Regions from separate parts of the Homo sapiens genome. Here region 2 is linked to region 1. Evidence: promoter capture Hi-C in human tissues and cell types (Jung and others, 2019). All regions are on one chromosome and are shown on one strand. The core of a region is centred on a gene start or on the middle of the fragment in contact, and the rest is flanking DNA. Distances in the headings are between cores, read along the strand shown.

The links. The method cuts DNA at HindIII sites, captures the fragments that hold promoters and counts their contacts. A contact is called where the count stands out against the background at its distance.
Region 2: a contact is called between the fragment with the promoter of CAMSAP1 here and the fragment with the promoter of BRD3 in region 1, in 1 of the 25 tissues and cell types used here (lymphoblastoid cells).

What each region holds. Positions count from the first base shown.
Region 1 is chr9:134,064,960-134,070,634 of GRCh38, reverse strand. It overlaps BRD3 (bromodomain containing 3), which reads left to right and starts at 2,609. Exons shown (of 12, transcript NM_007371.4): 1 at 2,609-2,690. RefSeq lists silencers at 2,004-2,733, 2,914-3,163. The HindIII fragment of the contact is 16,877 bases long and covers 1-4,164 here.
Region 2 is chr9:135,904,398-135,910,072 of GRCh38, reverse strand. It overlaps CAMSAP1 (calmodulin regulated spectrin associated protein 1), which reads left to right and starts at 2,527. Exons shown (of 17, transcript NM_015447.4): 1 at 2,527-3,073. The coding sequence starts at 2,914. CAMSAP1-DT (CAMSAP1 divergent transcript) reads right to left here and starts at 2,240. Exons shown (of 2, transcript XR_007061860.1): 1 at 1,154-2,240. RefSeq lists silencers at 1,959-2,638, 2,679-2,788, 2,869-2,938, 3,339-3,388 and an enhancer at 4,035-5,234. The HindIII fragment of the contact is 39,877 bases long and covers 1-5,675 here.

The sequences.
Region 1 (5,675 bases), core at 1,360-3,859:
TACCAGAGGTTAAAATTCCAAGAGCCTGAGCAGGAAGGGAGAGGATGATGGGCTGCTAGGGGCTGGAGGGGACTGCAGAGCCACCCCAAATCCCTTCTCAATGGCAGCCCTGCTGGCTTTCAGCTGTTTGCCACTGTGGCCCCTAAACTAGTCTTCAGAGATAGTAGCACAGGGGCTGAGATGCTCAAATGAGAGTTTCTGTCCTGTTCCCTTACAGATTCTGCTTCCTAGAGACTTCTCCAGCCTCGGGAAAGTTGGCTCCATGGAGCCATCCGGGCCACTCATGTGTGGGTGAGCAGCGGGAAGGGAAAGAAGGGGACCTTGGTGCTTCCATCAGAGCCAGTGCCCAGGGAGCGCCTGGGTTCCTGCCATACTCCTGGGGGTCACCTTAGGGCAGTGGGAGGCCCATAAGGGTTGGGGGCATTTGGTCAGCAGCCTCAGACACGCTGGCTGGTCAGGGCAGCCTGCTGTGTGCATGTACCTGGGTTCCTTGAGGTCAAGACCAGGCGGAAAGGCTTTTTGTTCTAGCCTTGGGAGGAGTGCAGTGGGGTCTGTGTAAGTGGTGAGGTGGCCATCCTGGTGGTCAGAGTGCTCAAGATACCCAAGGAGATGAGATGCAGACAGCAGGAATGGGTTGCAGCCTCCAAGGTGGCTAACACAGAAGCCTGTAGGTTGAGGAACTGCACCGGGGGTTTGGGGACACAACCAGGATGGTAGTTCTAAGGGAACTGCCTGCAGATCCTCACCTCTCATATTCCCCCTCCCCGACCTTCCTGCGCCTGAGGACTGCACTTTGTCCATTTTGCCAACTAGAAAGGCAAGGCTGGAACCTCGTCCTAGAGCCTTGCCCTGGAGTGTGAGAAGGTCCTGGGCTCCCAGCAGAAACAGAGGGACAGGATTGGGAAAGGTGTTGGCTTCCCCTGCAAACTCTTCCTAAGACCCCGGGGCTTTGGGTCTCAGCCGTCCTGCAAATTGGCTCTGTGACCTTGGGCAGGACCCTTTGCCTCACTGAGCCTGTTTCCTTACCTGTCAGCCTGGAACAGAACACCTGCCTTCTGGGTGAGCATGGGGATGAATTGTCTCTGTGCTGGCACTCACTTTGTGAATATTGCATAGATGTGTGCATTTCAGGCAGTGGAGCTGCTGCTCAACTTGGAACACACCTGGGGACCCCAGGGGCTTGGGGTGGGTGCAGCCCACACAAGGAAACTCGACCTTGCAGTTGGCAGGTTCAGCAGGCACCAAGGAACCTCGTTTTGTTTTTGACGTTTTTATTGGGGTCTAATGTACACAACGTGTAACCACCTTAAGTTACAGCTGGATTAAAATTGATTTATGTGGCCGGGTGCGTTGGCTCACGCTTGTAATCCCAGCACTTTGGGAGTCCGCGGTGGGCGGATCATCTCACGTCAGGAGTTTGAGAACAGCCCAGTCAACACGGTGAAACCCCATCTCTACTAAAAAATACAAAAATTAGCCGGGCGTGGTGGCGGGTGCCTGTAATCTCAGCTACTCGGGAGGCTGAGCCAGGAGAATGGCTTGAACCCGGGAGGCGGACGTTGCAGTGAGCCGAGATCGAGCCACTCACTACACTACAGCACTCCAGCCTGGGTGACAAGAGCGAAACTAACGTCTCAAAAAAAAAAAAAAAAAACAAAAACCAAAAAAACAACAAAACCCCCCCCCCCACAACTTGATTTATGTGTAAACCCGAGTCGTCATCACCCAAAACAAGATGCAAAACGTGTCCACGGGCTGAACCTTTCAAGATACAGAAAAAGGGCCAGGGGTGGCCCTCTCCCGGAATCTCAGGCTGGGAACCTGGTATCTAGTTCCCGCCCCTCACTGGGCAGATGGGGAAACCGGGGCTTGGGGCGAGAAGGTCCCCAGGCAGAGCTGGGAGCACCCCTAACTCTTCGCCAGCTCTGGGGACTTGGCGCCCTCTCCAGCAACAGCGAACTTGGGCGCCCGCGCCCCAGCAAGTCGGGTGGGGGAGATGGTGACACGGAGGGCGCGGCAGAGCGCGGCTCCTCCCCGGGCGGGGCCGACCTGCCCGCGCGCACCGACGCCCCGCCCCCCGCCCCGCGCGCGCGCTCCCGCCAGGCTAATTAGGCGCGCGGTTTGTTTACAAACACGGGCTCCCGGCAGGTGCGCGCCGCCCCGCCCGTGCGCGGCCGGGGTTCGAGGGTGGCTCCCGCGGGCCTCGGGGTGCCCGGACGGGGGCTGCGGTGCTGGCTGCGTGCCCGCTTCTTCCATGCCGTCCTGGGGCACCGGAAAATCCGCCGCCAGGCGCTGTCCCCGACACGGGGTGAGGAGAGCCGTGCGGGCCCGGGCGGGGAACGGCCCACGGGGTCCCAGCGTTGTTGCCCTGCCGGGCGGGCGCCGAGCCCCGCCCCCGCGCGCCCCCCGGGCCAGGCCCGCTCTCGGCCGGGTCGGCGGGGCGGGCGGGGGCCCCCGGGGCGGGGCGCGGCGCCGGCGGGGCCGGGACATGTAGTCCGCGCGCCCGCGGCCTCCCCTGGGCGGCCCCGGCGCGGGCCCGGCCGCGGACTACGACTCCCGCCAGGCGCCGCGGCGCAGCGCATGAGCCCTGCTCGGCTCCGGCGCGTCTATTATGCTGCCGGGGCCGGCGAGCCAAAGAGGAGCCGGCCGCGCGGGCCGGGAGGGGACGGCCGCCGGAGCCGCGAGGCCAAGTACGCCTTTCTCTTGCTTCCTTGCGCGCGCGGGGCGGCGGGCGGCGCGGGCGGCGGCGGGCCGGGCTGGGCCGGGGAGCGCGGCCCCGAGCGCCCCGCGCAGTCCGCCGGCGCGTCCGGGTGAACCGGGCGCCCGGGGCCGCCGCCGCCGCCGCCGCCTTTGTGCGCGGCCACGATGCAACAAAGCGCGGCGGCCGCCCGGGGTCGCGGCGGCGGTGGCGGCGGCGGTGGCGCGGGCTCCGCTCCCCTCCTCCCGCTCCCGCTTGGCCGCCTCCGTCCCGGACTCGGGGCGTCGCTGCGGCCGGGGCGCGCAGCCCGGAGTTGGCGCGGCCCGCGCGCCCCGCGCCAGCCCGGCCTCCGCGCGCCCTCCCTCACGGAAGGGATTTTTTTCCCCCTTTCCTCCGCCCGCCATCTTTCGAAGGGGGAACCCAGGGAGGACGCGGAGGGGGAAGGTGCGCGCGGCGGCCCCGGCCTGCGGCCGTGCGCTCCGCGGGGCCACTTTCCCCGCGCCTGTTCCGCCGGCCTCGCTCCCGAGCCGTTGCTGGGGCCCGCGCCTGGGGACCGTCGCCGCGCGCCGCGGCCGGGGCGGGGGGCAAGGCCGGGCTCGGCCCTGGGCTCTGCGCGGCCTCCTCCCAGAGTTACGGGCCCAGAGCTGACTTTGAGCCCCCCTGAGTTGCCGGATTATTGCACCCAAACCAGGGGGAGACCCAGTTCCCGTTTTGAAATCAGCCTGAAAATCGCTTAATCCGGGCGAGGGCGAGTTGGAGCGGGAGGGACGGGGGTGCTTCCCCTCCTTCCCACTTTTGGGGGGCGCCGGAGTGACAACGTGATACAAGCCCATCCGGGGAGAAATGCGCACCCCGAACCGTGTACACCCACATGGCCCTGGTGGGCTCTCTGTGAATAAAGCTGGGGCGTGCGGGAAGTCTTATTCCACCGGTTGCTCGTTCGGGGGCAGGGCCGGGATGGGGGCTTCGCGCGGCCTCCTTTCCCTGGAGGGCGAGAACTCGGCCCGCCGAGACCCACCGGGGGCAGGGACCCGGCGTCCATCGTGTGGGTTCCTCCGTTCGACCCAATCCTTGAGTGGTTGCGATCTTTAATTTTGGTTGAAAGCTTTCTGCTCAGAAATAGATACTGGGATTTCTCCCCCTTACATTAAACTTGGTCATTGTCTGCAAAAGTTAACCAGGAGGGGAGACTGTAGTGCATTGGTGGGCAGAGTAATTGGGCTGGAACTGCAAGAGGCAGCTTCGTGTGTCCCGTCCTCCCCCGCCCTACCCTGTGAGAAGGAACAGAAGAGGAAAAGAGTTTTCTTTTTACCCTGCTCTTTTGTAGGCTTTTCCCCTTACTCTTTTCTTTAAAATGGAGGGTTTTTTTTTTTTCCTGGGTCCATGTAGTATGCCTGGGGAGATCCTGGAATCTATGCAAAGTTGTATGGCATTTTTCTGGGGAAAGTAGTTTGTTACTGGCTTCCAACGGGGTCTAAGGAAGGTCTGAACCCCTGCAAGGGGCTGGCCTCGGGGGTTAGGGAGCCCTCCCTCCGGGTTCTTCCCTGGCAGCCCTGATGCAGCCTCTCATTTGCAAATAAAGGTCTGTGTTTGCCGTTTTCTCTGTTGAGGCCTTGATGGGTGCTGGTGGTTACTGATCATGAAAGATAAGGCACACGCTGTAACAGGACGGGCTGCAGGCGAGCGAGGGGCATTTCTTTCTGACCTTCCGGGTAGCCTCAGAGGCCCGGTGCCTCAGCAGGGCACCGGGTGCCTGGAAAGACTGTGGGAGCAGCTCCAGCCTGAGCCCTGCCGTTGGGACATCCGGGGAGGAGGGATTTCAAAAGCTTTCTCCGAGTGGGCAGTCACTCCATTTTTATTTTTGTTTTGTTTTTAGAAAGTAGAGTAATTACTTTCCTTTGACAACAGCTCGCGCCTGCTTCGGAAGTGAGTGAGCTTTGAATGAAGGACGGGACTTGCAAACAGTGCCTGCCCTACACTCCGAAGTAGTCATACCCAGAAAGTGAAAGTGGGGGTGTGCAGAGCGAAGCAGCCAGGCCTGCTGCAGCCGGTGCTACCTTCCTCTACCCTCTTCCTCCAGGCTCTGGAGATGCCAGCCGCGGGAGCCCTGTGCACCAGGCGGCAGTGATGGCCTTGTGCGATTCCTGGTGCCACCAGGAAGTGCCACCACTTTCCCTGAGGCATGGTGGCTCAGGGTTTCCCAAGTGGGGTGATTGGCACAAAACCAACAGCTATGCCCAGTTGTCGATGGGAAGAGCCATGTTTTGCTGTGGATACACACGGTACCGGGGCGGGGTATGGGGAACCGGGGCCTACTCTTCCCAGCGTTGCTGCCTGGGAGGTGGGGGCATGCCTGAAGTCGTGCTGCGGGTCTCTTGGTTTTCAAAGCAGTTAACGCAGTTGGTCAGAGGATCCTCCTCTTGCTTCCTTGACCGGTCATCAAAGTATAACTGACCTGACGGGGTTCCTGTCCTAGGCAGGTTCCTTTTTTTTTTTTTTTCTCTTCTCCTCTTGAGATGGAGTCTCGCATTGTTGCCCAGGCTGGAGTGCAGTGGCACGATCTCAGCCCACTGTAACCTCTACCTCCCGGGTTCTAGCAATTCTCCTGCTTCAGCCTCCCAAGTAGCTGGGATTACAGGCGTCCGCCACCACGCCCAGCTAATTTTTTGTATTTTTAGTAGAGACAGGGTTTCACTGTGTTGGACAGGCTGGTCTCGAACTCCTCACCTCGTGATCCACCTGCCTTGGCCTCCCAAAGTGCTGGGATTACAGGCATGAGCCACCGTGCCTAGCCAGCAGGTCCCTTATATCACGAAGCCAGTATCTGGTTGAAGCTAGAAGGTAACTGGATGAATCATGGTAGAATGCAAGGCTTCTTGCCGTAAAAGGTTTTGGAACTTGCGGGTCTGCCTTGGGCCTTCCCGACCCCTGTGGCTCCGCCCCCTTGTTGGAGCAGAAGAGATGCACAGGTAGCAAA
Region 2 (5,675 bases), core at 1,278-3,777, 1.8 Mb before region 1:
AAGATACTTCCTCGGCTGGGCGTGGTAGCTCACGCCTATAATCCCAGCATTTTGGGAGGCCCAGGGGGGTGGATTACTGGAGGTCAGGAGTTCAAGACCAGCCTGGCCAACATGGTAAAACCCCATCTCTACTAAAAATACAAAACTAGCTGGGCGTGGCGGCCTGTGCCTGCAATCCCAGCTACTCAGGAGGCTGAGGCAGGAAAATCGCTTGAACCTGGGAGGCAGAGGTTGCAGTGAGCCAAGATCCAGCCACTGTACTCCAGCCTGGGTGACAGAGTGAGACACTATCTCAAACAAACAAAAAATAGGTTTTATCAGGTTGAGGAAGTACCCTTTTTTTTAATGATTTTTAGACAGTTTCCCTTTTTTAGCTGGGATTACAGGCACCGGCCACCAACCTCAGCTAACTTTTTGTATTTTTAGTAGAGATGGGATTTCTCCATGTTGGCCAGGCTGGTCTCAAACTCTGGACCCCACGTGATCCGCCCGCCTCGACCTCCCAAAGGGTTGGGATTACAGGCGTGAGCCACTGTGCCCAGCCTGATAAAACCTATTTTTTAAGCACCCACAGCTATCATCATACCCAAAGGTGAAAGACTGGATGCCTCCTCCCTGAAATCAGGAGCAAGACAAGGATGTCCACTCTTGCTGCTTCTAGTCAATATTGTACTGGAGCTTCTAGATAGGGCAGCTAGGCAAGGAGAAGAAATAAAAGGCATCCAGATTAGAAAGGAAGAGATAAACTGATCTCTATTCACAAATGACACGCTTTTGTATAAAATCCCAAGGAATCCACTAAAACACTAGAACAACTAATAAATGCCACTAAAAGACAAGAAGAACTAATAAATGGGTTTAGCAAGGTTGCAGGATAAAAGATCAGTACACAAAAAGCCCTTAGAGTCACACTTGACCTTTCCGGGTCACACTCCACATCCCATATAACAGTAGATGGCCTCCTGCCTCCTCCTCAGCCCTTCCTAGTCTGTTCTTCACCCAGGAGTCAGAATGACCCTTTTAAAGGGTTAGTCATATCCTTCCGTGTGCTCAGTCTTCCGAAGGCTGCCCATTTCCTGCAGAGAAGGGGCCACAGTTCTGACTGTGCAGGACCTGTCTGCATCCCTCCATGTCCCCACCTCCCATTTCCTACCAGTCCTTCCAGCTCCTGCGTTCTCGACTTAGTGGCCTCTACTGTGTTTCTTACACTCCAGGCTCTCGTGTCTCAGAGGCTCTGTCTGCCGTGCTCCTTGCTCAAGACAGTACTTCTGCAGATATCCTTACCCTCGACGCCCACGTCCCGCCGGTCTTTGCTCAAATAAGTGCCCTCCTCCTATGGCTTTCCTTGACCGCTCTGCCCTGTCCACCTCGTGTTCTTTTCAGACGGCTGACTCAAGAAAAAATAGACAATCTCAACAGACCTATAACAAGTGAAGAGACTCAATTAGTAACCAAAAAACTATGAATCAAATAAGTCATCAAAAAAGCCCAGGCCCAAATGGCTTCAAGGTTGAATTGAAGCCTGCACGTGGGTTGGTATGTGAATGACGGACTGCCTGGGTCCTCTGGGCACCTGGCATTTCATACATGTTCCGCCTCTGGCACGGGGTGTCTCGACCAGGTACAGACAGGCTGGGAGCCCCGCGCCGGGCGCCCGCTCCCTGGAAGCTCGACCTCTCCCTGCCGTCAAGGCGCCGGTGGGCGGCACGTGGGCCGGCTCTCCCGGGGGCAGTTCTCTATTTCGCTGGTGAGGTTCTCAGACCAAATCCTCGGAATGCAAACTCTCACGGCGTTCCCGTAATTCTCAGCCCAGCGCGGGCCCCGACGCAGGCTCCAGGGGAACGAAGTCAGCGTCCCTTCCGGGGGATGCGCCGGCGGGGCCGCACCTGTTTCTGCCTCAGGGGTCCAAACGCCCACCTTCCCTGCACCGGGACGGGGGTCTGGAGACTGGCACGTCCACCTGGTGCCCGTCTGCTGGGCTGTCGCCTGCCGAGGTCGCCGCCGGCCACACCCACGAGGTCCCCAGGGCGCCGGCGGCGAGACCTCGGCCGGCCAGGGGGCCGGGCTGTGGCTGAGGTGGGACGAGCCAGGGCCGGGGAGGAGACACGGCGCTAAAAGAGGGCAGCTGCGGGCTCGGCAGGATCCCCGCCGCCGACCCACTCCACCCACCCCGCGCCGCCCACTCCCCGCTGCCTACGCCGCGCTCCACACCGCGGGCCTTAGAGCCTGAGGAAAGCAACGGGGCAGGCGCGGACCAGGGCGGGTCCTACTGCGCCTGCGGAAGCGGGCGGGGAGGGGCGGGTCGACGCTCACTGCGCCTGCGGAAAGGGGCGGGGCAGGCACAGGCCTGCGGGTGCCACCTACTGCGCCTGCGGAAAGGGGCGGGGCGGGCGCGGGCTGGCGGGCGGTGCCTACTGCGCCTGCGGAAAGGGGCGGGGCAGGCGCGAGAAGGGAGCGGAGCTGGGGGCGGGGTCGAGGGCGGGGTGGCGGGCGGTGCCTACTGCGCCTGTGCGAGGCCCCGGCGGTGAGCGCGCTCCCGCTCCTTGGCCACCGCCTCAGCCGCTGTCGCCGCCGCCGCCGCTCACCCGGGACCGCGCACGCGCTGCCACCGCCCCCGGCCCGCTCCCGCCCCCGCGCCCGCCCCCGCCCCCGGCCCGCGCCCTCCTGCCGCCGCCTCTTTGGGCCGCGGGCTCGGCACCTCCTCCGCTCGGGCTCAGCGCCCGCAGCATGCAGCAGCCGCGGGGGCGGCGACGGCGGCGGCTGTGAGGTGAGGCGGGGGCCGCGCTCGGGCGCCCCTCCCGGCTGGCCGGCTGCGGGGCCGAGTGGTGGCTCGGGGCGCACCGGGCCCGGCGCGGCGAGGGGCGGCGGCGCCTTTGTTGCGGCCGGGCCGCCGCCTCAGCCCTTTGTCTGCAGATGGTGGACGCGAGCGGCCGCGCCGCCGCCGAGGGCTGGAGGAAGATGGAGGCCCCGCCGGACGGCGCCGCCGACCTCGTGCCCCTGGACCGCTACGACGCGGCGCGCGCCAAGATCGCCGCCAACCTGCAGTGGATCTGCGCCAAGGCCTACGGCCGAGGTGGGCCGGGTGAGGGGCGCGGGGCGGGGGCCAGGGGCGCGGGCCGGGGCCGGGGGACGCGGCCGGGGTCCGGCCGGGTCGGGGTCCGCGCGCCGCGCCTTTGTGCCGCGTCCGCACAGGGTCGGGGCTGGGCCGGCCGCCTCCGAGGTCCTGGCGGCGCCCGGGCAACGCGGAGCGTGGGGACGCGGTCACCTGGCGAGTGGGCGTCCCTGCGGCGGAGGGCGGCGTGGGTCGGGGCTTCCGCTCCTATTTCGGGAGTGCCCCCAGCCTCCCGTTGGCGGCGGCGGCGGCGGGAAGGAGCTGCCCGGTTCTGGGCGCAGGGAGGGACCATGGGGACGCGGGGCCGCCGTCTGAGGCGCCGCTTCCCGGCGCGCCGGGCATCGTCCAGTGCTGGACCTGTGATTCCGAGCCTTGCACTTGTTATGAATTTTGATGCTTACAAGCTGTCAGCTGTTGAATTCCCCAACTAGAAATTGCGTATTCCGCGCATTGTGCTTAATCATAATGATCCCCTTTGGTTAATTCCTGTTTGGAAGAACTAGGTAACCTTGTTACTCAGTCCAGTTTGTTAGGCCCTAATGTGCTTAGTGGATTAAGACGCTTCTGTTTCGTGCCCTGGGAACAGGACAGACCTAGTGATTCTCGTCAGTGGCTGACTTCTTTATTAATTTCAGGTGCTTTGTTTCAGGTACAATTAAAGGTTAATATTTCTGCAATCCTCTTTTCATTTGAAGCATTCTTAAAATATTTGCCTTTATTCTGGTGAAAAATTACCCTTTTTAGAGTAAGACTAAAGGAGACAGCCCTTCCAGAGAAGAGTTCAGTTGACCAGTTTGGAAAACGCTGAGTAGGCGTTGCCCTGTTTGACAGTGGCCTGTGCCCCAGCTAGACTCGAGTTAGTCATAAGGACAAACGCGTTTTGTAAGTTTTAGGGATTAAATAACTCGCCTTATTTCAAACTGGTTTTTGTACTGTGTAAGTAGTAATTGGGAAAGAGTTTTTCCTTTGACAGTTTTCAGTTTTACAGTTCTTGTTTACTGGCTCAGTGGAACCTTAGTTTCTGTGTTGTAATGAGGAAGAAACACTGCTACATCCAAGACTTCACATGAGTTTTTGAGAACGGAATTGGTAAGATGTAGGTATGAAACTTGAGTCAGGTGCAAAGAACAGCCCGAGAGCGGACGCCTGGGTATCTTGCAGTCACTGCCGGCTGCGTGGGCTCACCTGCCTCACACCTTGTGTTAGTCACTGTTTTGCTTTTCTTTGTATTTTGCCGCATGTGCTTACACCACGAACTAGTTTTTACACCTTTGCCAATGATGTCTCTTTCTGAGACTGGCTTTTGTTATTCCCTTATCCCACGTTACGTTCTTAGGTTCTTCTTGACTTCATCTTCACTTTTCCACATTTCCGCTGCTGTGGAGTGTCTCACTGAGGACTGTTCACCGCAGCTGCTCGTGGGCGCTGGCTGGGCTCCCGTAGGTGCTGTGGAGCCCAGTGCATTCTTGGGCATGGCTCCTGGGATCCGAGCACAAAGTTTTACTCCTGCATGTTTTTTAAGATTTTATATGTGGAGAGGGCTGAGGGCTCAGGCAGCGGATGTTAGACAAATTGCTATAAAAAGAACTTTCACGATCTGCTTTCCAATTTCTTTAGCAAGGTGCATGCATTTTTTATTTCATTGCATTTAGCTTTGGCATTCAGCATGGGATTTGTCAGCCATCCAGAAATAAGTACGCGTGTCTCTGTGTTAGTATTGGGTTCGTCTAGTTTCACTTCCGGTACCAGGTCACTCTTTAATCCTTGTTGACTCATCGGATGATGAATTCACAATCTGATACTAACATGGGCTTTTGAGTTCTGGAATTATTAAAAGGTGGGCATTTAAAGAAAAGAAACATGAACAGGAGCTGGAGAAGACTGGACACCATCTTAGGAGCTGAGACTGGAGTGCCCCTTACTGGTGGGTGACAGTGCCTTCGCACATCAGACTCCGATTTTAGGAGGTCTGGTTTCCACTTTTTTTTTTTTTTTTGAGACGGAGTCTCGCTCTATCGTCCAGCCTGGAGTGCAGTGACGCGACCTCAGCTCACCGCAACCGCCACCTCCTGGGTTCAAGCGATTCTTCTGCCTCAGCCTCCCAAGTAGCTGGGATTACAGGCGTGCGCCCCCACTCCCGGCCAGTTTTTGTATTTTTCGTAGAGACGGGTTACTCCATATTGCCAGGCTGGTCTCGAACTCCTGACCTCACGATCCGCCTGCCTTGGCCTCCCAAAGTGCTGGGATTACAGGTGTGAGCCACCACGCCTGGCTGGTTTCCACTTCTTTTTGCCGAGAGAGGGCTTTTACATTCTATAGTTTGCTTCACAGGGGGAGCATATGTAATTACAAAAAAAAAAGTTTTTAAGCCAGGTGTGGTAATTTATACTTACAATTCTAGTGACTCGGAGGCAGAGGTAGGATGATCACTTGAGGCCAGGTGTTTGAGATGGAGTCTGCCTGTGTTTCCCAGGCTGGTCTCCAACTCCTGGGCTCCAGTGATCCTCCTGCTTCAGCCTCGTGTGTAATTTTCTTTTTTCCTTTTTTTTTTTTTTTTTGTGGA